Regions from separate parts of the Homo sapiens genome. Here regions 2, 3, 4, 5, 6 and 7 are each linked to region 1. Evidence: promoter capture Hi-C in 16 types of primary human blood cells and fetal thymus (Javierre and others, 2016). All regions are on one chromosome and are shown on one strand. The core of a region is centred on a gene start or on the middle of the fragment in contact, and the rest is flanking DNA. Distances in the headings are between cores, read along the strand shown.

Region 1 (3,531 bases), core at 45-2,544:
CATGTGGTAAGGAACTGTGGGTGGCTGCTAGGACCTGATGGCCACTTCCAGTTCAGAGCCAGTAAGAAGCCAGGGCCCCTAGTCAGACAGCCACAAGGAACTGAATGAGCTGACAGGAGTTTGGAATCAGATTCTTCCCTAGTTGAGCCTCCAGATGAGAATTGCAGTTTGGCTGACATCCACTTGTAGCCTTGTGAGAGCATGAGCACAGGACTCAGCTAACCTGTTCCTGACCTCCTTGCCCATGGAATGTGAGGCAATACATATGTGTTGCTTTAAGCCACTAAGACACTAAGACTGTGATAATTTGTTGTAAAGCAATTTTAAAAACCTGAATACCATGTGGTTAGGAAAAGTGCTACACTATTTATTAGTCAAAAGTCTTCAATTACTTTTCATTGTCTTTGGAATAAAGACCAAAAAGCTTATATGGCCACTAAAAGCCTCTTGTTATCTACATTATTCTATTTTTCCATGTTACTTTTTTATTACCTGGTCTAGGCCGAATGTGATGAAGTCTCTATCAACCCACAAGAGAGCTCCAGGGCATAGACTGCCTGTTAAAGGAGCCGCTCACGGAGCAGAAACAGCTAAGCCCTGATACCACATTTTCCCACTTCACCTACTTCACGTCCCTTGTATTTCTTCCAAATTTAACTTTCTATTTATTGCATATATTCATGTTTTACATTTCAATGCTGGTGACAAAGTTGTTTTCCTTTCCCAATTATTATTCCAAATCTGACCAATTTTTCTAGACTTCCATATGACCTAATGTGATTATCCTTCCTTACCCCAACCTAGAAATAATTCATCTCTTTTCTTCCTTGCTCCTTATTTGGCATTTCTCATCCTGCACTATACTATAGCTTATCTATCTTGGGGGACATTTGTCATTCTTTTTAGCTTTCCAGCATCCAACATACTTTCCAGTGTTTAGGGAATTCCCTACCTCTTGCATCTCAGTGGGAAGCAGTGTGATGGGGTCAGAAGTGTAAACTTGCGCAACATCCTGCTCCCAAGAAAGACGTGCACTTGCTACTTCATCCTTCGCTCCATCTTGGTCCTCCCAACTGGAGAGAGGACAGCCTAGACGAGACTTCCCACAACCAAGATGGCGGCCGTGCACTCCTTGCCCACAGCTGGCCTTTTCTCCACTTTCGGTCTCCATCGTAACGCGGCTGGCTCTCTCGGCGCCGGCTTAGGCCTTGCAAGTAGGGAAATGGTGAGTCTTTCCCGCCCCCTCATTTTTGCGACAGTTGCAGCGAAAGTCACGGCAGTTGGGGCTGGTGTCAGCTGATTTACTGCAGTGGCGGCGGCGGCGGCACCGGCACCTTGCAGTATCACTGGGGAGACGGCGGCTGTATAGCGCTTGCCGCCCCACGGATTATCCCAGCAGGATCTACGCACCCCGCATCCTCCGTAGTTCCGCCCTATCCTTGTCCTCCTTGGCTGGGGCGCCCACCGGCGGTCTGATAGGCTACATCGCGGCATGAGATGAAGCTGTGACAGGTAAGGGGGCTTTCAAGCTTCTCCATGGGAAACCACAGGGCGGGATGTTCCTGCACCGTGGAGGTCAGGGGTCAGGGGTCAAAGGTCACAAACCCGCTCTAGCCGGGGGCGGTGCTAGCTGTCAGATCGCTGCGGCTGCAAGCCTGCAGGTCGGGCCCAAAAGTAGGCGCCGTTACCAAGAGCGTGGGGGCCAGCCGGGGGTCTTTGTGGCTCCCTTGCCTGGTGAGTGATATTTGCTACTTGTGACAGTTGCTTTGGTCTTGAGGTGGGACTGCCTGGTTCCCAGGTGCAATCTAAACGGGATCAGGTGATTGGTGATGATCGTTGGTGGTTATTGACAGCAATTTTGGGCGATGTGCTTGCTTTTGGGGTTCATATAGTCTTTCCTTTCCTGTTGGTACTATTTTTGCCCATGCCCAAGGTACTGACACCACTGTTAGAATTTCATTTTTGAGATGCCATCTGCCAGTTCTTATCCCTTTGCCCTAGTACTTGTCTGAGCGGATGCCAGTCACTCCCATTCACTTAGTGATGGGTCCCAGCGTTCTGAAGCTATGTTTGAAGTCAGCACTACCCTAACTTTGATTCAAAAATTGCTGTTTTATGTTTTTTACCCACTTAGTATGTCACTTTTTGAGGCAGAATTTGCTGGGTTAGATAGTCTGAAACTAGGGAACCTACCGTCGCATGACAGGCTGCATTGATATTGTTGATGCTGCTGAATTTAGGGTTCGGTCAGTGGCAGCTATAGCTTCCTCTCACTGTAATATTTGCCATGAGACAAAAAAAGGCAAACTGACTCTTTCAGGTGTTTATGTCTTAGGATTTTATGGGCAAGGTTGCAGGAATTGCCTGTTGTATGAAAGAAATTAACTGAGTTTTTGACATTTTGTAAAACAAAAATTTTAGTTTGACTCTGCTTCTTGCTTTATAAACAAACTCGTGGCTGTATGAAGGTCAGCTTAAAAGTGAACATAATGTGTTGAAATGCCCTCATTATTACAAAGAATAAAAAACTGTCTAGTTCCATCCAGAACAATACATATTAGTTATTATAAATTGGGAAAACGAACCACTATAAATATAATTAATGCTTTATTATTAATGTCAATTAGGGATTATGGTAGAAAATTCATTTATTTTACTGCCAATCCTTATTTTAAGAGTGTTTCAGAGAAATACTTTAAGAGAAAAATGAGAGTATGCCCTTTATTTTTTCTTATTGCCACCTGTAACTAAATTTTAAAAGATCTCGGTGACTGGGTGAATCAAAGGGACTGGGCTTGGCTTGGTTTGAATATCCCTGTAAGAATTTAACTTAAATTTTAGGGGTAGTGACCCTTGTATCTTACAGTTTCCTTTTATCTTTGATATATGTTCCGTTTTGAAGTTAAAGGAAGTTGGGTGGTTTCTCCATGTAACACACTTAGCATCGAAAATCTTCAAAGTAGTGAGCTTGTTTTGTGTTTTCTTCGTGAGAGGGGTAGGATGACATTTAGCTTTAGTGGTGTGATGTTTATTAGATGTATGAGTCCTTAAAGTTCATTTTGGACCTCAGGTGCAGAGGATGGAGTTAATCTTACTCAATTCAATGGGCTGTTCAAGGCATCTCCCCTGCCTGCATTTTTCGTTCTTCTTTTTTTTTTTTAGATGGAGTTTCGCTCTTATTGCCCAGGCTGGAGTGCAGTGGCGTGATCTCAGCTCACTGCAACCTCCCCATCCCGGGCTCAAGCGATTCTCCTGCCTCAGCCTCCTGACTAGCTTGGGATTACAGACTGTGCCACCATGCCTGGCTAATTTTTGTATTTTTAGTACACATGGGGTTTCACCATGTTGGTCAGGCTGGTCTCGAACTCCTGACCTCAGGTGATCCACCAGCCTTGGCCTCCCAAAGTGCTGGGATTACAGGTGTGAGCCACCACATCCAGTCTCATTCATTGTTTTTTGTTTCTAATTCCCGCTGTTTTCTCTTGCTCATCAACCCATATGCAACCATTCTGTATGATGTGTATTCTTCTG
Region 2 (3,476 bases), core at 755-3,254, 1.8 Mb before region 1:
ATGTGGCGGTGTGGAATCATTGGCAGCTCGGGAAAGAGATGGAGTTCTCAATATAAGATATTCAGAAAAACTATAAAAAATTCTGAAAATAGCATTTCACCTAATTCTAAAGAGAATTGAAAAGAGGCCCCCAGAAAAACTCATGAGGCTACGTACATAGAAGCTCTAATAAATTCAATTTTTTAAAATGACTTGTAGAACAGATGAATAAAGGAAACATATAATTAGAAATACTTAACGAAGGTGTTGTCTGAGCTGTGAGCATAGTTTGAAGAAGAGTAATGCACAGTGAGCCGAAGCTTGGGAAAAAATGCTCAGGAGAGCAAAAGATTATTTTCACATTGTTTGAAACAAAGCAGTGAATAAAGAAGGGTCATCTCCCTCTTCTTTCTTTTCTTTTTTTCTTTCTTTCTTTTTTTTTTTTTTGAGATGGAGTTTCTGTTGCCCAGGCTGGAGTGCAATGGCACGATCTCAGCTCATTGCAATCTCCCTCCCCGGGGTTCAAGCGATTCTCCCACCTCAGCCTCCCAAGTAGCTGGGATTACAGGCATGTGCCACCACTCCAGGCTAATTTTTGTATTTTTAGTAGAGGTAGGGTTTCACCATATTGGCTAGGCTGGTCTTGAACTCCTGACCTCAGGTGATCCGCCTGCCTTGGCCTCCCAAAGTGCTGGGATTACAGGTGTGTACAACTGCACCCGGCCATGAATCCCTCTTCTTTCTACATGAAAGAAAATAGCCTTCAAAATGGAAGGTCTAGACAACACCAAAAGAAAATTAAAATCAAAGAAAGCTGAGAAGTTATTGTGACTGCAAATAACTTCTTTAAATGAGAAAGACTAATGGCAGAAGTTGTCAAGAGGACCTCTGTGAGGAAAGGGCATTTCAGTTGAGACCTAAAGGTTGCCTGGTTGCTAGTCAGGTGAAGGGGTTGAGAAAGAACAAACCAGACAGTGCAAAAGGATTTGCTGAATTCTTAACCTGGGAAAGAGCTTGGAGCGTTCAAGAAACTGAGAAAAGGAGTTTGGAGAATGGAAAGCAGGTGGCAGAGAGAGGCACAAAGTGAGTCTGGAGGCACCAATGGGGAAGAGTCATTGCAGAAACTAGACAAGACCAATGAAGATCAGGAAGTGCAGCAACCTAAAACTTACTTGTCAGAGCTGTTATAGAGATGACTTCTACTGGGAGGTTGAACTAAACAACCCTCAAGCTCTCATCCAAAGCTATAATCCTACAAATACAAGAACACAATTTGTTTAATATTTGATAATGTGTTCTAGATTTTTTAAATTAAGAATTGATAGTGAAAGTATAGTTATAAAATATAAAACAGATCAAAGCAAATTAAGTAGTAGCTGCCATATAAAGCAAATGTTTAATATCCAGAAAAGCAGGAAAAACGTTTCTAGGTAGCTACAGCTGTATTCAAGGATACCAAGACCCACTCACATAATTTTGGGAACAGTTTCATAGAAAGGAGATATAGACTTCATATATTGGTGGGATTTAAATCAAACCAGTAGGAAGTCTATTATTAGTCAAATATTGCTAGTGTTGAGTGGTGTATAACTATAGACAGGGCATTCAGTCTCCTTAAGGATCTTGATTTTCTCCTGTGTAAAATAAAAGGTAAGGGTTGATTATTTTAACATCCCTACTGTTCAGCTCTAGACTTGGGCAACACATAATTCTTGTTTGATGTTTACTTCCTTCCTTCTTTTTTCCTTTTCTTCCTTCCATTTATGTGTCTATCCCTCTAGATAGATGATAGGTAGAGATAGATAAATAGATAGATAACCTTAGATCTACCTAAGATTATCTTTGTTATACATAAATCTGTGTGCATAAGTGTATATATATGTGTGTGTGTGTGTGTGCATGTATGTAAACATGGAAGAAGAGATAGAAACATATGAACTCTATAATAGAGGGAAAATTTCATTTTAAAACGTTTAGGGAAAAAGCATAAGACTTTATTTTAGTCCTCTTTCTGGCTTCGTTCTAGCACATAAATTTATTTTCAATCATATTGAACTTGGGGTCAACTTAATCTGTTTTCTTCTTGTTTCTCTCCTTAACTTGCTCAGAAAAAAAAATGAGATTATGTATTAAATCTGACCTGAGGGATATACCAGAACAATAATAATTAGTAAAAGCAAAATCAGCTTGTATTATATTTGCCCAATCTAACTTAGGCAAGGTAATCAGAGCCTGAGAAGTTCATTAAATGAATTATTCAGTTCTTATGGTCTATTATTCAAAATATATTATTTTCATAAACAAAATGGACTGTTGATAAGTGTTCCTGTACATATATAAATATTAAAAATACAAAATGAAATTAGATTTTTCAGAGGGAAAGAGAAACTAGTCATGTCTTAGTGCCTTTGAAAAAGTAGACACGTTTTCTAATATTAAGAGGTGCCACATATTGACTCAGGTGCCTCCTTGGAGTAACTTAAGCCTCTAATTTTCTGGAACTTTCTCCCAAATGCTGCAAAATATAGGAGCAATGCAACCTGTTTGCAAATTTATTAATTCTTTAAGCGAACTAAAGATAGATATCACAGCTAACTGTATGGAAACTGTAATTCCCAGTCCCTATATCTATCCCTTTCTCACTCAATCTTTGATCTTAATCTTCCTAAGGTTTGTAATACCTATTCTCAAATACTGCCTCTCAAGGTTTGGAAGTAAACGCTTCTATTAGGAAGAACCTAGGAAACAACACTGCAAAACATACGTTACAGGAAAAAATTGCTGTAACGAAAATATTCTCATATTTATAACCGAGGGTTAAAACGTAATAAAACAGACTTAAATAAATAGGCCATCATGTTTGAAAAGTCTATTCTTTAATCTTCAGTTGGAAGCAAGATGCTAGTTGATGAAGCCTGCATAGCAGTAATAGTAATAAGATGAAATGAGCAACTTTGGGTTTGCTTTTCTCGTGTAAAGTCACTAGGCCATCATCAGATGCTACTTATTTTGAAATTGGCCTATACAATCTCCCCAGATCTCCTTTGCTGTATTTTATTTTTTCACTTACCTACTAGGAAAACCAAGAAGACAAAAGTAAAATGCACCCAGCAAGTACTCATTAGTATTGTTTCTGAACACGCTTAATTTGGGTGCCCTCAGGAATGTACGTACTTGATGAGAATTTATGCATCTGTGATTACAGAGCAGCTTATATTTAGATAAAGGTGAGGAGGAGATGAAAAATGGATAAAGACAGAACATACTGATCACTAGGTGCAGGTACACCAACCTGCAGGCTTTGTGTCCTTTGTAGACTTGGAGAAACCTTGCTGGGCATCTGTTTCCTGTGCAAGCTCTGAGGAAGTCATAAAATTCTACATTGCGGTTTTCTTTGGAAAGTGATTAAATGATAATAACTGAGTTGCTTTGAAGATGAATTTCCCTCAAATTATATTGTTATTCTGCTTCCCAGCAGATCTTCTTATCAAGTGTAT
Region 3 (3,954 bases), core at 788-3,287, 1.4 Mb after region 1:
TCTCAAAAAAAAAAAAAAAAAAAAAGAAAGAAAGAAAAGAAATTGGATTACTAATCTGAGACTTCAGAGTAGATGATGGGTAAACTGATTGATGATGCTAGTCTTCTAAGTATGTTTGTTTATATTCTACCTCACTCCACAAAAGATTTGAGTGTGTTTATAACATGCAATTTCCTCTAAGTTGAAAAAAAACGAATGAAAAAACAGAGTGGTGGAAAATATATAAAGAAAAGGCATATAGGCTGGGCTCAGTAGCTCATGCCTGTAATCCTAACACTTTGGGAGGCCAAGGTGGGAGGATCACTTGAAGCCTAGAATTCGAGACCAGCCTGGGCAAGGGAGACCCCATCTCTACAAAAAACAAAAAACCTTAGCCGGTACAATGGTGTGCTCCTGTAGTCCCAGCTACTTGGGAGGCTGAGGTGGGAGGATCACTTGAGTCCTGGAGTTTGAGGGTACAGTGTGCTGTGATCATGCCACTGTTCTCCAGTCTGGACAACAGAGCAAGAACTTGTCTCTCGGGGAAAAGGAAAAGAAAAAGAAAAAAAAAAAGAATAGTAATATAAATCTAGGCCAGATGTCTCTAAACTTGGCAGTGGTGCATTAGGATCACCTGGGGAACTTTTAAAGCTCCTGATGCCCATGTGGCACCCTGTACTAATTAAATCATAACGCCTGGGAGTGGGAGGCAGAGAGGAGCAGTAGTAAAAATTCCCAAATGTTTCTATGTATAGCAAAATTTGGAAACTAAGCTGATGTTCTCAGCCTTAAATGCACATTAGCATCACCTGGGAGGCTGTTGAAACTACTGATGTCAGAATCCATTAAATCATAGCCTCTGATGCTGGTTACCGGGCACTTAGTCTATTTGAAAGCTCCCCAGGTGATTGCAATGTACATGCTGAGTAGAGAACCACAGCACTGGGGGAAAGTTGGTATATAGTTACAAAAGGGATTTTTTTTAATGGGTTCTTTTATGGCTTAAGACCATGAAACTGGTTCTGAGCTTCCTGGTGGCCAAAGTAGATAGAAAAACACAGTCGGTTTTAATAATTTTGGTCATCTGCCATGCAAAAGCTTACCAGTTTCTTGAAAGCAAAAGAGCTTTTCTTCATAGATCTGAAATAAATGTCTAGTTTATTAGTCTTCTCACAGAGGATGTTGATGTCATGGATCACGATTTTATAAACACCCCACAATAAGTGACATATGGCAAGTTTCATATTATAGTTCCTAATAACCATCCCTCAGGGAAAGACAAGGACATGACCCTGAGTGCAGGGCTATAGGCTGTTGCGGTGGGTGTGTGGGAGTAGATGATAAAAGACAGGAAGAGAAACTGCCACACCCCTCTACAGTTTCCAGATAACATAGCCTTACCCAAAGGCGAAGCCTGGAATTGTGTACCTCCAGGATGTGGAAGGCGTGTCCTGTGTAATTAGAAATTATAATTTTCTATCAGCACATTTTAAGAATTATTTATTTATGTATTTATTTATTTAGAGACACAGGGTCTTTCTCTGTCATCCAGGCTGGAGTGCAATGGCACGATCATAGCTCACTGTAACCTTGAACTTCTGGGCTCAAGTGAACCTCTAGTCTTAGCCTCCTGAGTAGCTAGGACTATGGGCCCATGCCACCACACCTGGCAAATTTTTAATTTTTTTTTTTTTTTGTAGGGACAGGGGTCTCTCTATATTGCCCAGGCTGGTCTCGAACTCCTGGCCTCAAATGATCCTCCTGCCTCTGCCTCCCAAAATGCTAGCATTATTATTCAATTACTTTTCTTCCTTTATAATATAAACTGTACAAATTTTACAAAGGTTTGGCTAGTGAGGGTAGGTAGAGAAGCACTGACTCCCATCCATGAGGGTCACAGGCTAGGGCAAGGGCATCTGAGAATGCGTGTGTGTGTGTGTGTGTGTGTGTGAGAGAGAGAGAGAGAAAGACAGAGTGTGCACGTGTACCTTTTGTTTATCAAAAGACTTTAGGGTTGTTTTTTTTTGTTTTTGTTTTTTTTGAGACGGAGTCTCGCTCTGTGGTCCAGGCTGGAGTGCAGTGGCGCAGTCTCGGCTCACTGCAACCTCCGCCTCCCAGGTTCAAGGGATCCTCATGCCTCAGCCTCCCCGAGTAGCTGGGATTACAGGCGCCCGCCACCACGCCTGGGTAATTTTTGTATTTTTAGTAGAGATGGAGTTTCACCACATTGGCCAGCTGGTCTTGAACTACCGATCTTATGATCCGCCCGCCTCAGCCTCCCAAAGTGCTGGGATTACAGGTTTGAGCCACCGTGCCCGGTCTAAAGACTCGAGGTTTGAAAGGGTTGAAAAACCTCAGTATTGAAAGAATGGACAGAAATCTGACTTTTAAATAGTCCTCCATAAATAGTTCTCATTGGGGGTTTTGTGGCCTGTAAGTACTGTGGACTTGACGGCTCAAGACTTCTAGAGAAGGCTTCTGAGTAGGATGTTGACTCCATGGGGCTAAGTCGTCAAAGGAAACCCATTCTACGGCACAGGTTTTAAGCCAGTCATGCTGCAGGAAGGCAAAGGAGAGCTTAAGGTAGCATGGGTGGGCTCTTTTGAAAACGAACTAGCAGGGCGAACAGCAGATATTTAGTTATGTAGCTGGCAACGAGGAATATGATTCCTTCGGGTCACGCGAGTTCTCTCTGAACTTCCTTGAATGAAAATCCTAAATGCATCCTGGTAATACCCAAGTAGGCACTTTGACGTTTCCTTTTCAAAGGCAAATGGAATGTTCTGCGTCTGTTTTCTTTTTGAACTCCCAACTGCACTTAACATCTAAATTTAAGGAAAGGCTTCCGAAAAAGTCGACTGACGAATTTCTTTCACTTATTTAAAGTAGTCTCTTGCAGTCCTATAAATCGGAAGGATTAAATGAACTGCTTGCTAGAGAAACGGTAGCTGGGTGGTGGGAAGAATCCTACGGTGGCTAATAAGACGTCTCGATCATTTGCATATGCAAAGGATAACCTTAAGCTTGAGTTTGATATTTCACGTTGCGGCTCACAAATGAACTGCTTTTTATTCAAAGAACCATGCTGTCTGTTTTCGCGTGGGTGGGTGTGTAACCGGGGCGGGCGCTATGTTGGTTTTGTTCCCTGCAAGGTTGACACAGGCAATGGCGACTTGCGGCCACACTGGGGCAGCCTCTCCTCGGCTGGCAGCCGGGCCGGGCGGCTCGCTCCCGGGAGCTGACAATGTAGCCAAGTCCTGCTCGTCGGGGCCGCAAAGAATTTAAAGGGGTCTAGAAACATCCATCTTTTCCCCTTTTCACAGTTAACAGCGAGCTCAGGGCTCTCGGTAAAAAGACCACCGGGAGGAAGAAACGCTCAGGGCGTTTTTGTTATTGTTCGCAAAATCCTCTATCGCCCCCAAACGTCCAGCCCGCCCCCTCCCTAAAGCGGAGGGAAACCGGGAGAGGAGGGAGGGTCGGCGGCGCCGGCCAAGCGCGCCAGTACACGCCCCTGCGGATCCGCCCCGCGGCCGGGTGACCCCCGCCGCGCCGCGCTGGAGGCCCCGGGCCGGGGTGGGCGTGGGGCTGAACTCCGCCACCCCCGCAGCCCGCGGCCCGCTCGCCAGCCCGGCCTGTGATTGGCTTGGGGGGCGCGTGTGCCCGCCCCGGCGAACGGGGAGGGTACCCTCGCGGCGCCGGTGGGAGGAGGCGGAGGAGGGGGCGGAGAGAGCGGGGGCCCGGACGGCGCTAGCGAGGAGGCGGGCGAGCCGGGTCCCCGGGAGCGCAGAGGAGGCTCGGAGGGGGGCGGAGAGCGGCGGGGCGGGAGGGAGGCGCGGGTCGCGGGGAGGGAAAGCCCGGCCGGGTCTGCGCCGCCGCCGCGCGCAGTGAGAGGCGCCGGGGCTGCCGCCCGGTGCTCGGCGCGCTCTCGGGAGCCGCCCGCCCGCTGGTCCCGCAGCCTTCCGGGAGGAAGCGGTG
Region 4 (3,679 bases), core at 1,180-3,679, 1.4 Mb before region 1:
AAATATAAACACTTAAAAAAGTTAAAGTGTTCTTGGTAAAAATTGAACTGTAAAAGAACAACAGAGTATATTTCTACCATGAATTATGTCAAGTCGCAAGGTAATTACTGCTAAAGGAAACATTTCTTAGAAGTCTTCTAACTGTTTTTTCTATGAAAACCAACTAAAAAGTTAAATTGTTCCTAAACTTTGGGGTGAAAAGTACTTGAGAAATTACAAAGTTGACAAGTTTTAAAAGCATGTAAAGAAGTATTAATTTTAAAAAATCTCAGATTGAAAATGTTTAATTTCATTTTTAACATATACAATAAATAGAATTAAAGTTGGAATTATAATTATATTACGGCATGCAGAGAAGATGAATCTCAAATATATAGTTCTTAGGATATTTTATTTTTATTTTTTGGTGTATAGGTATATAGCTATCTTAAACCTTCAGTAGCAATCCAAAGGGTACAAACATGCCCTAGGTAGCTATTATATTACAGATATTTTTGAGAGTCTCTGGATTTTATAAAACGATTTATGAATTATAGAGGTTTAAAATTATATAAAGTATCTTTCAACATAAGGTTAACCTTTTGTTAACATTCTTATTAAAAACATCCCTACGGATTTTTTCATTCTCTGGGCCTATTGGCCTACAGGTTATTATTAATGATTGCTAATGTTTAGGTTTGGTTTCCCAAGCCTAAGGGAAAAGATGATCTACATTACTGCTAAATTCATTCATTTTTTCTTTGTTTCAATAGTTTAACAAAAAGTATTGAGTACTAGGTATACACTAGGCCATCAGCTGGCTGTTAAATGTATAGCAGATATTGCTTCCTTGAAAATAAGATTATTTTCACCATAACATTTTATATAGTAAAGGCCTATTAAAAAGTTAGGCAATAGAAAAGTTAAATCTGACACTGTATTTCGTGAAGCTCTTTTTCATTGAGTTCTTAAATCCGGAAGTTAGAATTTTGTAACTGGACTCATTTCATATTGGGAGGAATAGTTTGCAGATTCCTCTCTTTAAGAACCATGCAAGCAAAATCATGTCTGTGATTTTGACAACTTCAGAGTTTTAACTAGAAGATGGAAATTGAAGTTACAAATAAGAGGCCACAGTAGTGAGTTTACAATATGCCCCAGACAGTTTCTGAACATCTTTCACCTTAATTGCATATTCCTTCAAGTCTTGAATTCTCAGGGCACCAAGTACCCCTCTACTGAAAGGAAGCTGATGTGGGACAGGACCATGATGCAACTGTTTCTGTGGCCATCATGTGAAAACACATGATTTTTTTTAAAGTTATCATTCATGTACTTGAGCTTTAGTCCTTAGATTACAGAGGTTTAAATGTCACCTTAAATTCAAATATGAAGTTCAAGATCACTAACATTTTAAATAGATGGCACATATGACAAATAAATTGAAAACATATATCACTAAACAAGAGTCTCCTGACAATGTGATACCCTGGGTGGCAATGCGTTTAGGACTGTTAACACAGAGTACTCTGCTTGATGCAGACTTATAAAAATACATATTTTACATAAATTATGCTTTTCACAGTAAATTAATATTTATCACATCCCATGATCTTGGCATAATGTTCTTTTGAAAGAAAGAATAGAATTAGATGTGTGCAAATTAATTGTGCTCATCAAAAATGTCAACTCAATTTTTTTTTTTTTTTTTTGCTTTTCGGGTATGCATATGCAGATAAACAAATTTGTTCCCCATATTTTGTGTGGTCTGCTAGGGAAAGGAGCCTACTGATATAATCTACCTGGCCTCTCCTGCAATGTGCACCCTTCCAGAAAGCCACTTTCCTGGGCAGATAGAAAAAATATATCCTTCCGTCAATGTTTTCAATCGAAATCTGTTTTGAGTGATGGATCCTTGAGTTGCCAATCTCTGTAAGCTCCTGTAGGACAATATCTCCCACTGCTCACAAAACAGGGGACTGATGCTGAGGTAGCTACTGTTTATAACTGAAGGTGATTAGCTTTTTGTCACGGCACAAAACGCACCCAGGTGACATAGCCTGCTGTGTCCCTTTGAGTTACACCTAGGACGGGTCACAAAGTTAAAGGACTTCTGACACACGGGCTCTATTATGCGTGGAACAAATTCTCTCTATTCCTAACAGAGCCATTCCATCCAATTTTATAGATTTCCATGGAATTTCACACGTGAACTAACAAACTAAAAGAGCTAACACACTGAAGGGAAGGAAGATTAGTATCTTTTAATGAGAATGATTTTGAGTGTGTCCACTATATCAGGCTGCTTCCCTGGTACTCTTTGCCCCAAATGTGCTCCCCTTCCTGTGACATGGCCCTTCCTAGAGATGCATAAAGAAGGAAACCCCATGGCCCGTAGACAAGGCTTATACAAATAAGGTTTTCACACCTGGGCAAAAAGAGTTAACATTTTGCACACAGGGGTTCTTGGTAAATTCCACATCTAAATTCAGGGCATTAACTTGGTAACAAGATAATTACATTAGAAAATAAGTGCCACACACATATCAGGATGGAGCCCTTAGGGGCATCCTCCAAGTGGTTCATTCTTGAAGTAGCTGCTATCATTTCAAACATCTTGGTCTTTTTAAAAAATTCATTTATTTATTTGTTTGTTTATTTATTTATTTATTTATTTTGAGATGGAGTCTCGCTCTGTTGCCCAGGCTGGAGTGCAGTGGTGCAATCTCAGCTCACTGTAAGCTCTGCCTCCCAGGTTCATGCCATTCTTCTGCCTCAGCCTCCCGAGTAGCTGGGACTACAGGTGCCCACCACCACGCCTGGCTAATTTTTTGTATTTTTAGTACAGACAGGGTTTCACCATATTGGCCAGGATGGTCTTGATATCCTGACCTTGTGATTTGCCTGCCTTGGCCTCCCAAGTGTTGGGATTACAGGCGTGAGCCACCGCACTCGGCCACATCTTGGTCTTTTTTGAGCAGCAGAAAGGTATACGCTATCAGTAGCAAGACTACAAGCTCAGGGTGGGGGCACACATCCATGTATTTAAACATACTGGACAATTCCATAATTTCCTATATTTGTCTTCTCCCCCAAAAGTTGGGCCTTTTATCCTAAACCAGTTACTATGTTGGGACAGAGCTTTCACCATGTAATATTCCAGTCTGTGGTAGGTTACTTCATCTTGGACCCTTGTTCTTACCTACAAATTAGTAAGTGGGTGAAAATTTTACATAAGGTTATACATTAGGCCAACTTGTTCCCAGTTGGCTAAATCCAGGATGTTCAAAACATACATGGAGCTGAACCACTTCTAAACAAACAGCTACATCGTCTTGGGGATGGTGAAGATGCTGAAATGGTTGGTCATGAGTGGAAGACCATCATAAGCATCGGCTCTAAGTGAAGCAGATCAATCTAATCTTAACCCATTACTGCTTAAAGGGGTTTAATTGTAAAGAAAGACTTAGTACAGTTTTAATTAATACATCAATTTTTAAGGAATTCAATTCCTAAGAAGAGCATGACTTCAAAAATTCTACACTTGCCTACTATTCCATTTCTTCTGCCCCATCTGTGACATTAAGTGACCCAGGAAAATGCTATCCAGTGGCCTTTCCCTCAGAAGCAGCAGCATCTTACCTTGCATGAAGAAGGAGCTAGGGAAAGTGCTGGTTGCTGGTTTGGAGGAAGGATAGCC
Region 5 (3,657 bases), core at 245-2,744, 1.4 Mb before region 1:
AACACTTTAATCATTTTGTTAAATCACAGCCACTTTGATTATGTTATGTTTCCGATGATATAAACATTGGAAGGCACAGTGGTAACATTGTAGCATTCTAACCTTGTACCTCTGAAAATCCCAGAATAGGTTCACAAACGCAACATTACAATTCAGACAAACTCTTTTTGCCATGTCTTGGTAATGCTGCTTGTAATATCTACACATGATGTGACTTTTAAGTCCTGTGTTCCCAAAAGACTGGAGAAACAACTTTCTACTTATTTATGAATGAGAAGCAACATCAGGGTCAGCATTTCATCCTGCACTACCCCTCTGGAAGCAGAGTTGGCACTACAGGTTACGATAACAAACCAGGGAAAGGGACAGAAATAAGACCAAAAAAAAAAAAATCCATATTTACAGTAAAATCTTTCTTTTAAAAAAGTTAATCAGTACTATTTTTTTACAGGAGAAAAAAGTCTGAAACAAATGAACAAAAGCTTACCATAGTCACTAAATTTTTAATATATATTTATATATATATTTATATATATATTTGTCATAGGTCTATAAGATCCATCTGTTCCTCCTACCCTAAGGAATGGCTAATGTCATCACTTCGTTGTCATCAGGACGTTTGCTGGTTTTGTTACTAGGGCAGCCGAGCTTCCCCTAATTCAATATCCAGTAATTATAAACACTAGCTGACTTGAATACCAACAAAAACGTTCATGTAGTTTTCTTCAGAAGTACACTTTTTCATTATTGCAAGTTTACAATTTTTTTTAAATTAAATATTTTTTTTTCAGACTTACAAATTAATTATATTTTTTTTTTCCAAAAGAAGTTTAGGCACAAATGCATTGTTCCACAGTGTGGAAAGATTGCCGTTCAGTCTCTGGGCTGTGTCTCAGCCTGTACATACTGCTTTGCACATTCTGAATGATATGTTAAAGAAAGTCGTCCCTCAAGTTGCACTTTTTTCTTTCTTTTTTTTGTTTTTCTGTTTTTTGATAATTGGGAATGCTGAAACCTCTTGCGTCTGCGATTCATAACTACTCAGACTTGTCTTATATTACAAAAATGGGGGTTAAGGAGAAGTGTTTATGTGGGTTTAAGATAATACAGCTGTTAAGGAAGTGGTCTCTTGTTTTAATGAAGCAATGTGGCAACTTGGACCTGAGAAAGGAAAAAAGAGAGAAAAAATTCATTAATATATTTGTAACAGAAAAAGTATGCTTTTTTTAAAAAAAATTCTTTTTCCATGAAAGAAAATATCTGTCAATTTGGGTGAAATTCACTTTTATGGCTGATACACTGATGAGAGTTTTGAATGATCGATCTCAGAAATGGCTGAAAACAAACTTGCCCTTTTACATCTGTCCCATGTGATTCGATGCGTCTCCCATTCCAGGGTGTGGGCCGGCCAAGGAGAGAGGGGGAGGCTCTGAGGACACCTTCTCTTCCTCCCTTCTTTTCAGACACGCAGCTTTCGGATTCAGATTCCTTTCTGTGGAGGATTAAAGCACAGAACCTTTGTTTAATGCTGAGGCTTCTGGCAGAGGGCAGCAATGCACTCTTCTTGCGTGTCTGACCTTTTTCTCAGTGTTTATATTACAGAACAAAAGGAACAGTTACTAAGTACTGTGGCAATCCATTTGGTCAGTCACTAGTAAAAGGTGAACTGCATGTGAGTGTGTACAGCCACTTTACAGTAAGCAAAGGTTGGTAAAGCAAATAAACTAAGCTCAAATTACTGAAAGGATATAGGGAAAGTTGCAATATAATCTTAGTTATAAGAGAATCCCACAACTTAATTACAGGAGAAAGGGATGCTGCCTTATGGATTTAGACACAGTCTGCAATGGAAACAATTCTTTGGAATGATGCTTGAAAGTCTACTGTCTGCCACTGCTCAAGACTGGCGTGCCCATCTCAGCTTGTGCCTGCCACAAGCTCCTCACGAGCTCTGCAAGGAGGCTGGCCTGCACTGACCTCGGACTTGCTGCTCCAGACTGAGGATGACGGCCACCGCCTGGTGGAGGATCAGGAGCTTGGTCTGGGGCTTGTCACTCTTGAGGTGGAGCTGCACCATGCGGCCGAGCTCTTTGAAAGCCTCGTTGATGTCACGGACCCGCAGACGCTCTCGGGCATTGTTGGCCATCCTCCGCTCCTTCTCACGCTCTGCCTTCTGCTCTGGTGTCAGGTCCTCATCGTCATTATTGCTGTGGGACAAAAGGGATGCAACATTTTCTAATGGTGTGGGGAAAAAGAAGGTGTCTACATTACTTTGTTTTCTTCCAGAGTTTTCAGGGAACTTTTCCATCTTATGCCATGTTTTTGGCAGAATTTTTATATCCACTTGACCTTGGGATTGGTTTAGATGGCTTTGACAGTTCACAATACACAAGATATTTGGTTTTCTCGCAGACATTAAACCCAAACCAAACAGGTGAGGGTGACGTAGATTAAAGTTAGAGTGCAGGGTGTGCCCATACTGATACAGGGGGGCAGAAAGGGAAAACAAAGCTTTTTTTATTCAATGGGGTTACACTCTGCAAAGCAGGCATTCACCAACTTACGCCTAGCATATGTTGCATAACCACGCTTCAAAAAGACTTTATGTTTATACTTTATTTTTTAAATATATATAAAACCTTTCATACCGTGACATCTGAAATCTAGGGGAAACAAGTAATTGAAAAATGATTTTGATAGGTCAAAAAAATACAAGGCAGCTTAACAGGAGTAAGAAGAAAGGCCTATATGTAAGACACCAGAGCAATGGGAGTGAAGACAGTGAGGCTTTTATTCAGGTGTCCCCATTACCTTGCTTTGAAGGCCTGGTCAACCCACTATGTGAGTCTCATTTTCTCTATGTATTAAACAAAAAGTTACAAAAACATGACTTCCATGGTCTTTAATCTTATAGATGTTTATGATCCACAGAACAAGTTTGGGAAACCTGAACTGATATCAGTCATGCAAAACGATTCAACAAACCAAACACCTGCAGCTTATGAATGACCATGACCTCATTGTGAGTCAAAAATGAAGCCAGAAAGCTGGGTGCAGTGGCTCATGCCTATAACCCCAGCCTGGACGATATAGTGAGACCTCGTCTCTACAAAAAATAAAAAAAAATTAGCTGGGCACAGTGATGCACACCTGCGGTCTCAGCTACTCAGGAGGCTGAGGTGGGAGGCTCACTTGAATCTAGGAGGTGGAGGCTACAGTGAGATGTGATCAGGCCACTGCACTCCAGCCTGGGCAACACAGCCAGACTCTGTCTCTTACAAAAAAAAAAAAAAAAAAAAGCCAAAAGGTAATTTCTAATTGTGAAAACCAAAATATTCCATGATTCATAACAAATGCATGGCCGGGCCCAGAATAGTCTGAAAAGATAAGATCGGTTCTGTCCATTTCTGAGTGTTACAGTGACAAATTAGAAACTTTTGAATGGAAGGCAAAGAGGATGATGAGCCACCTGGAAAGCATATCATATGAGGAAGTCGTCACAGCAGCAGGGTTCAAATATTCCAAGGGCTGTCATGTAAAAAAGAGAAGTGTGCACGACGTCTTGTCTCAAGAAGGCAGAGCAGCACGTGCTATAAAGCTCTGAATGACTATTGTGAATAAACATGAGTGAGGACTTTTGGGGGGCTTATGAGAGAC
Region 6 (4,052 bases), core at 712-3,211, 1.4 Mb before region 1:
GACAGCCAAAGTAGAAGAGAACCAGTCCTTTCCTTCACTTACAAAGTTTAAGCAGCAGAATTTTAGTGTTGAAGGGAAGTATACATCATGCACCCTTTTTCAGAAAAACTGTCCTTTGAATCGTAAGTGGCTTCCATAGGTGTTGTGCGTGGGGTGAACTTCTGGCCTTGTACCAGGAAGAAGATATCATATGGAGATGACCCAGATGTGAAAGGTATCACGCTGCAATTCCACAGTTGTCCAGCACTGGGTGTGCAGAATTTCTCAAGAAACTCATCGATGTAGAATTTACGAATATCTCTGACTTGCTATATTTATCTACACCTCAGTTTCTGCATCCAGATTTTCTTTTTATTTTACTTTTATTATTGTAGGGACAGGGTCTCACTATGTTGCCCAGGCTGGTCTCAAACTCCTGGCCTCAGAGAATCCTCCTGCCTTGGCCTGTGTCCGGATTTTTAAAATAACAGTTGCAAGAAATTATAACAAACCAAGAGTCAGTTTATGACTTTAATCTTCCTCCCAAAATTCGGAAACATAATCAGAAGTCACAGGCAAGTTAAGACTATGCATCATCTTTGATGGTGTTTCCTATTTCCACTGGATGGAGAATCAAAAACAGGTTGGACTGACTTATAAGGAGGCACAATCCAGAATGCAAACCTCAAGCGCACTGACTGCTTGAAAAACTCTCCCATTTCACCTGCCCCCTAATTCTTTCTGTTCTTCATCCCGTTGGCCTACACTGCTCATTTTGCCCTTTGCATGTGTTGTACCATGTGTTGCTGTCTTCTGTTTTATATTTATGATCTGTTTTCTGAAATCTCCCAGGCTGCAGGTGTGTCATTCCTTACCTGGTCACTCTCTATGTCTGGTAGATAAGATAATTGATGCTCATTTTCCGGTGATGAGGACGATGATGATGACGATGATGGAAAATTATCTTGCAATGCCTGTTCTCCACTTCTTTACCTTCCTTCCACACTCACTACTTCAATGAAACTGCTCAAGACCTCCTGGATGCTGCAGCCAAATGTCACTTCTATCTTTCAGCAACATCTGACACTGTTGACAATTTCCTCCTTCTGGTCAGATCTGCCTCCCTTGGCTTCTCTGACTCTAAGTTTTCCAGGTCCTCCTATCCGTCTTGACTTTTAAATTCAATTACTTCTCAGGCATACCCATTTGAAAGGCTCCTCGTCACATTCATGATAAAATCTCAACTCCTTAATAGGGCTCACAAGTCGCTTTTTGATCAGGCCACTGTTTACCTTTTCAGTCTCATCTTTTATGTTATCCTTTTGTACCATAAGCTTCTGGCATTCTGAACTACTTCTGGGTCACCGGATATGCCATGCTCACCCCTGCTTCCAGTTATAACCCTTGCATTTTGCCAGCTTAATTCCCATTCATCCTTGCACTTCACTTCCTCTAAGGCCAAATGTGGACTAGTTGTCCTTTGTATATCTACCTTAAGGAGCCTGTACACCCCAATCAATGCATTATCAGTCTAGGTTTTAATAGTCTGTTTGCCTATCTCATGCTTGTCTTGTTCAGGGTTATATTCTAACAGCTCACTCATAGTAGGCATTTGATAAATATTAGCTGAATTACTTTATTCTGTCAAACTTCTTGCCACCATCTGAGTGAAGGAGTTAGGAAAAGTACATTAAAGTGTTTTTTTTTTTTTTAAACAACCAAAATAACTCCTCCTGAAATAGGAAAGATGAAATCTACTGCCTCTCTGTAACTCTCTGAAACTGATAATCTCAGGCGATAGTGCTAGTCCAAAGAACAGATACAGGATTTCATCCAAGTGCATGTCAATGACTTACCATCAGTGGAAGAAGCCTGAAGCTCTGGCTATTTTTGTTCCTTAAATTCCCTGTGTTCTGCTCCTGTACTTAAAGCCAGATGCAGAGGAATCCCAGGATTTAGAATCTCTCATGTTAGCTCTCTTGAGTGCAATGTGGGAAAGAGAATGAAAACTTCCACTGCTTAGAAGTCTGCAGAGCTCAGGGATAAAAATGAGCAGGAACTCAAGTCATGGTGTAAGGGTGAGAGTCTATGATCGGGCTTCTACTATATGGCTAAGAGAGGGCGTCCTTCATCTTCATCATGTTTTACCTGCAGTGGTTTTTGGCTTCAATTTAATAGCAATATTGTCTTTGGAGCCAGTTTCTTAAAAATGATACGTTTCTTCTGTTATATGCCAGCCACATCAAAGAGGGCCACATCAGTGTGACTGCTCCTAAGGTGAAATAATCTGTGGTGTTTTCTAAAATGGTCTGAGGTGAACAAACCAGGTAAGAAAATGCTAAGATTTGCATTTCCTTGAAATGCAATGTTATTTTTGAGCTCCTAATTGAAAAAATTTAAACTGCATATAATTAAGTGTGGGGGAGTGCACCAAGGTGGCTCACATTTAGGCACATGGTAAACTGATTTGCCGTTGAACTAGAAGGCTAATATTAGGAATGGGTGAGCCAAGCCATGCTTTGTGTTTGTTCAATGTCTCATACTATTTTTCAAACGTCATGGGCTCAGCAAAACCCAAAACACATTTTCTCAGCACTTCTCTCTATTTTTCAACCCATATGTATTTCGAGAGAAGCTTAATTCATATGTTTCTGATTTCTTTACATGCAAGTCATCAGAATGTTGTTTTGTAGGAACTATTTGATGTCCAGAAAGCCTGTTGAGTCTTTTCTTTGAGGTTTTTTTTTTTTTTTTTTTTTTTATCCCTTAGGATCAGGAAGCCATGATTTCCAAATAGAAAAAAAAAAAAAAAGGAAAGAAAGAGTAAAAACACTCATCAGAATCCCCAATATTTTTTCCTCAAAGGTTCAAATTTTGTTTAACAGAGCGCATAGAGTCTGAGTATAATTCTTTCATTGGCAGGCTTGTATCATACTGTATTTTCCTGCTCCTCATTGACACTGCCTTTCTTGAAGTTAGTAATGTCTTCCTTGTGGATACAAAAGTACAAATTTGCAATGTATGAATAACAAGAATAGATCTTAAAGGGAGGTGGTGAGCTAGCTCTTCACACACTAAGTGAATGCATTCTGTAACGTGCTGTCAGGGCTGAGGGAGAGGGTCTGGGTATTAAGAGAGAGGAAAGTAGTTAGCTCCTCTCCAAGAGAGTCCTGTGAAAATAAGCACAATTTTTCACTCCATTAGGCATTGTGCTGGCATCCTCTTTCCTCAATTTATAACTGTAACTCTCTGATTCAAGTGTGGTCTGATGGTTGTTTGCGTGCATTACAAATTATAATATAATTTTATAAATATTTCTCCATTTGTGAATAACTACAAACAAAAAACAAAAACAACAAAAAAAGAAGCAAACAAAAAAAAAACTAGCAATTTTTAGGACTTCCAAGGACAGTTTGAGTATCCCTACATTGAAACTTTTGGCAAAAGTGGTATCCCTTTTTTAAAAAATAAGGTTTAAGACACTATATATTACATGTAGGAGGGCTTTTATCTTTTAACATCATTGATGTCTATCTAAATTTGATCATTTTAAAAGTTGTCTTGAATGTAGTAATATTTTAGAAGACTGAATCAGATTTTAATAGTAGTGGACAGTCTTTTTTTTAAAGGTGCTGTATATAAAAAAGATTGGCTCCTCTGCAAGCTTTCCTAAATTTCAATCTGCAAACCAAATTGATGTTGGGCACGAAGCATCCAGTCGGTATCTAACACTATCTCATGCCTCTGAAGTGTGTCTCTACAAATATAAACCCACATTTCCCAGCAGACTCTTTGTCCTCTGTGAGGGTAGCCAGATTAGGAATGCTGGTTCATCTGAGTGAGAACTGAAAGATTTCTACCTATGCTTCCTTTCAAGGCTGAGATATCTCTATTCCCTAAAACTCTTTTCCATTTTCCCATTTCAAAACCAGAATGGTGTTAGGGCTGAGAAGATTCAAAACAGTCTTCTCAAATCAAATATCTCTCCAGCACAGCTGCTGTTAAGTGACCCACCATGTTCGAAGACAGGCTCACAACCCATATACTACGGTTTTTTTGCTATGAGCCCCCAA
Region 7 (3,862 bases), core at 42-2,541, 1.4 Mb before region 1:
AAGGCTTTCTGGAAGCATTTATATTGGAAAGACAATGAGTCTCTTAAACGGACCCCTGAAAAGTGAAATTATTTACTGACATAATTCTACAAATTATAGTTATTCAATTTGAAGCCACAGGTCATACGAATGTATTATACTTTGAAGTCAAACATCCCTTCTACCCCACACAATTATTTCACAATTTATTTACAAAATTATAGTTTTCTCTAAACATCCCAATGGCATGTACTTTAAAGAGGGAATTTGGAAAGCCTGAAATTCCTGCAGGAAATGATCCATTTAAATAGTCTATATTTGATGACTATCTAGTCTATATTCATATTCATGACTATATTAACTGAGTTTTTTTCATCTGAGACGTTTTATTGGAATACATTATTCTGCCGTTGGGTGTCTTCTGCAGAGCTAAGAAAAGTGTAAGAAATACATTTTCCATATGCCTGTATATTTTAAAAAGATAATCTAATTTTTAAGAAAAGGTTTGGATGTAAACGACTATACTGTTATCTGGTAATTTGTCTCTCCCACCCTTTGTATTTGTCTGTTATAGGAATGTTAAAGCTTTGGGATTTGGGGGGAAGTGAGTTTCCACCTACAAAATCAGGAAGTACAAGGGGGGAATCATTCTTATAAACTGTTATATGATGAAATGGGATTTGAAATACACTACCTGAGAGAGATGGAGGAGAGCCAACAGGAGTTGAAGGGTTTGATGAAAAGCTGTTGTTAGTGTGATCTGGAGAATAGATCTTAAAACAATAAGGAGAAAAAAAAAACACCCTCATTCATTAAAATAATTCACACTTTTCTAAACTACGAAGTTGTCAACGCAATTCATTTAGAACTTACAAGTTACAGCATACATGTAATAATCAACTACAGTACCAAAATTGTCAAATGAAGAACTTAACAATTATTTTAATTTTTCAAAACAAGAATTACTGATGTGGTATGGGATGGTGGGAAAAGAGCCAGGCTGGGGTCAGCAGACTTCAAACCAACTCTTCGTTCCTACTGGCTGTGTGGCTATGGGCAAGCCAAGCAGATACTTTGAACTTTCCTTTCCTCATCTACACAATGAGAGGTTGAACAGGATCATTCCTAAGATATTTTGCCACTCTTTTGCCAGATCTAGGCGTTTGATTGCATAGCATCAGAAGGCCCAGATGAAACAAAAACTTTTACTTAGGGCACAATGCTAATACAGTGTGAACTTTTTTAATGCTCTCAATGGTAAAAGCCAACTGAAGAGACAAAATCTTAGAGAAAGAAATCTCCACTTACATTTATTTATTTATTTGATGGAGTCTTGCTCTGTCACCCAAGTTGGAGTGCAGTGGCATGATCTCAGCTCACTGCAACCTCTACCTCCCAGGTTCAAGCGATTCTCCTGCCTCAGTCTCCGGAGTAGCTGGGATTACAGGCATGTGCCACCCATGCCTAGTTAATTTTCATGTTTTTAGTAGTGACAGGGCTTCACCGTGTTGGCCAGGCTAGTCTTGAACTCCTGACCTCAAGTGATCCTCCCACCTCGGCCTCCCAAAGTGCTGAGATTACCAGTGTGAGCCACACTACCTGGCCCTCCACTTACATTTCTAAATGACCATGTTTAGCTTTTGACTAAAATACCAGATATACTCTCTGAGACAATGAAGGTATGCCATTTTGTCATCAGGGAACATGCAAGAAATGTTCAATTTTAGCTTTCTGGCAGTAGGTGGGCAAAGCAGAGAAGCTGAGTCCCCCAGGTGCCAATTATGTGACAGTTCTTCATGGACCTCAGTTATTGTCTTTTTTTTTTTTTTTTTTTTTCAAATGCCTCTTTCAAAGTGTTTTAGAACTATTCCTTGCTAAGACAGTCTTAGCTGGTCAATGTGCACCCATATTACTTTAGAGAAAAATAAGACATCAGTATAAAAAACCTATAAACCCAAAGACCAGGAGAATATTCCCACATCCATAATTGAGTGCAGCTTAGTACCATTTTGAGGATGAGAGAAAGAGACTATATACTGGAAGCTTCAGAGCCTTCTCAAATTTTCCAGTGACTGTTATGCAAGAAAGCTAGCATTTTCCAAAAATCAAAGCTATTTGCCATTCATTTTCTAAAATTCCAAATGTCCACTTCTGATTAAAGTTCACCCTTTACAATGGTACATATGGAGTCCAAAGTCAATATTTCCTCACCGAAGCAAGTGCTTTCCCCAGAGCATCTCCAGTCTGGGAGCTGCCGGCTGCCCCGCTTCCTCTATTTGCTGCAAAAACAAAAGGCAGAATATGAAAACCAGGCAGTGAGACGTCTAACAATTTTCTATTCCTGGTCCATTTACTCACAATTTAATTGCATTTTTAATGCTAATTACAACACATTAATCTTTAATTAGCATTAATTTGTTTGCTGAGGTAGATGTCAAATATATTCATGTTACTTTTTTACAGATAAAATATAAACCTGACACCTTGGTTTAAAGATAAAGTGGTTTCCTTGCTATGACTTTCCCCTTGCTGTTGATGAGCTGGTGAATGTAGCAAGCTATGTGACGGTCATTGCTGACAAGTATAGACTACTTTCAGGTCTCTGGAGTCCTCAGAGTCTGGCTTTTCTTTATATTATTTTATAGTAAATGGAATTATCTTCACAAATAACTTCCATCTGTTTTCAAATAAATAGAAATTTGATACATAGCAAAACGGGGTATTCGTCTCACAGTCCTACAGTACACCAAACAAACAAACAAAAATTTCCACAACAGGTCTGGCTAACAAGGAGAGAAAATATTTTTAATGTTTTAAATAACATATATTCTCCACATATTTAAAAGTCTGTGTTCACACTAAAAAAAGTGAACTGGTATGCTACTAAAAGTCAATATGGCCTCGAATTCCAGAGATAAAGTAAGTCTACATATTCATGAAGCTTATCTCTACTGCCTTAAACACTGGTATTTTTATCTACAAAAGAGAAGAACAAAGAGTATTGTGAATAATAAAAGACATATATTACAGTATACAATTCAAAGCCAGCTTTCTTTAACATGTATCATTGGAAGGTATCTTGCCTTTAGAACTAAGTGATAAAATGGGATTTCCAGGATTCTTGTGGTCTTCAGTATTAACAGAATGCCTAGCACTTGGGGTATGTTGTATTTACTAAAGCCTCAACATTAGCAAATAGACATAGTATCTAAATAAAACCTATTAAAGTTCTGAGGGAAGATTGTTTTTCACTATTTTGTGAAATAAGAAAAGGAAAGGTTAAATCACCCAATGAATCCAAGCAAAACTTCATTAAACAGGTATATAATTTCAAAGACTTTCCAGCCCCATTCTTGAACTAAGAGAGCCTTCTTTCTTACAAATGTGTTGTCATCACCTTCCACACTTGTAAAATGCAGTAGTGGGGTCGGATCTTCAGTGGTCCAATTCTATGGCTTTTCCAGGTCATAATTTAATTCTCCTGACCTCTGCTTAGCATAGCTAATTTATGCTTGTTATTTTCATATATTTATATGTTGAGTTTGTCAGATGAGTTTTCTTTTTTGTTTTGAGATGGAGTCTTGTTCTGTTGCCCAGGCTGGAGTGCAGTGGCACAATCTCGGCTCACTGCAACCTCTGCCTTCCGGGTTCAAGCAATTCTCCTGCCTCAGCCTCCTGAGTAGCTAGGATTACAGGCACACGCCACCACGCCAAGTAATTTTCGTATTTTTAGTAGAGACAGGGTTTCACCATGTTGGTCAGGCTGGTCTCGAACTCCTGACTTCATGAACCACCCACCTTGGCCTCCCAAAGTGCTGGGATTACAGGACTGAGTCACGGTGCCCAGCCGATAATGTTTTGATATATACTTTATTTGGTTTAC

The links. The method cuts DNA at HindIII sites, captures the fragments that hold promoters and counts their contacts. A CHiCAGO score of 5 or more calls a contact.
Region 2: a contact is called between a fragment that was not itself captured here and the fragment with the promoter of WDR7 in region 1, in 1 of 17 cell types (erythroblasts). The highest score is 5.6, in erythroblasts.
Region 3: a contact is called between a fragment that was not itself captured here and the fragment with the promoter of WDR7 in region 1, in 2 of 17 cell types (total CD8 T cells and naive CD8 T cells). The highest score is 6.3, in total CD8 T cells.
Region 4: a contact is called between a fragment that was not itself captured here and the fragment with the promoter of WDR7 in region 1, in 1 of 17 cell types (total B cells). The highest score is 5.5, in total B cells.
Region 5: a fragment that was not itself captured here is called in contact with the fragment with the promoter of WDR7 in region 1 in 1 of 17 cell types (monocytes); the score reaches 7.0 in monocytes.
Region 6: a contact is called between a fragment that was not itself captured here and the fragment with the promoter of WDR7 in region 1, in 3 of 17 cell types (naive B cells, total B cells and monocytes). The highest score is 7.1, in naive B cells.
Region 7: a contact is called between a fragment that was not itself captured here and the fragment with the promoter of WDR7 in region 1, in 2 of 17 cell types (M0 macrophages and naive B cells). The highest score is 6.3, in M0 macrophages.

The regions. Positions count from the first base shown.
Region 1 is chr18:56,650,065-56,653,595 of GRCh38, forward strand. It overlaps WDR7 (WD repeat domain 7), which reads left to right and starts at 1,295. Exons shown (of 28, transcript NM_015285.3): 1 at 1,295-1,512. RefSeq lists an enhancer at 1,026-1,415. The HindIII fragment of the contact is 1,105 bases long and covers 423-1,527 here.
Region 2 is chr18:54,832,823-54,836,298 of GRCh38, forward strand. All of the region lies in intron 1 of RAB27B (RAB27B, member RAS oncogene family), which reads left to right. Among named protein-coding and RNA genes, the nearest start is that of RAB27B, 6.1 kb to the left of the region's middle. The HindIII fragment of the contact is 3,414 bases long and covers 298-3,476 here.
Region 3 is chr18:58,040,522-58,044,475 of GRCh38, forward strand. NEDD4L (NEDD4 like E3 ubiquitin protein ligase) reads left to right here and starts at 3,705. Exons shown (of 31, transcript NM_001144967.3): 1 at 3,705-3,954. RefSeq lists a cis regulatory region at 1,098-1,510 and silencers at 3,400-3,769, 3,790-3,954. The HindIII fragment of the contact is 1,925 bases long and covers 1,076-3,000 here.
Region 4 is chr18:55,275,930-55,279,608 of GRCh38, forward strand. It overlaps TCF4 (transcription factor 4), which reads right to left. Exons shown (of 20, transcript NM_001083962.2): 9 at 3,622-3,679. Among named protein-coding and RNA genes, the nearest start is that of LINC01929, 150 kb to the left of the region's middle. The HindIII fragment of the contact is 8,285 bases long and covers 1-3,679 here.
Region 5 is chr18:55,226,870-55,230,526 of GRCh38, forward strand. TCF4 (transcription factor 4) reads right to left here. Exons shown (of 20, transcript NM_001083962.2): 18 at 1,978-2,207; 19 at 1,352-1,492; 20 at 1-1,161. The coding sequence ends at 1,356. Among named protein-coding and RNA genes, the nearest start is that of LINC01929, 100 kb to the left of the region's middle. The HindIII fragment of the contact is 2,029 bases long and covers 481-2,509 here.
Region 6 is chr18:55,294,431-55,298,482 of GRCh38, forward strand. The region is part of intron 8 of TCF4 (transcription factor 4); the gene reads right to left. Among named protein-coding and RNA genes, the nearest start is that of TCF4-AS1, 160 kb to the right of the region's middle. The HindIII fragment of the contact is 1,301 bases long and covers 1,312-2,612 here.
Region 7 is chr18:55,259,276-55,263,137 of GRCh38, forward strand. TCF4 (transcription factor 4) reads right to left here. Exons shown (of 20, transcript NM_001083962.2): 12 at 2,191-2,258; 13 at 674-752. Among named protein-coding and RNA genes, the nearest start is that of LINC01929, 140 kb to the left of the region's middle. The HindIII fragment of the contact is 1,458 bases long and covers 563-2,020 here.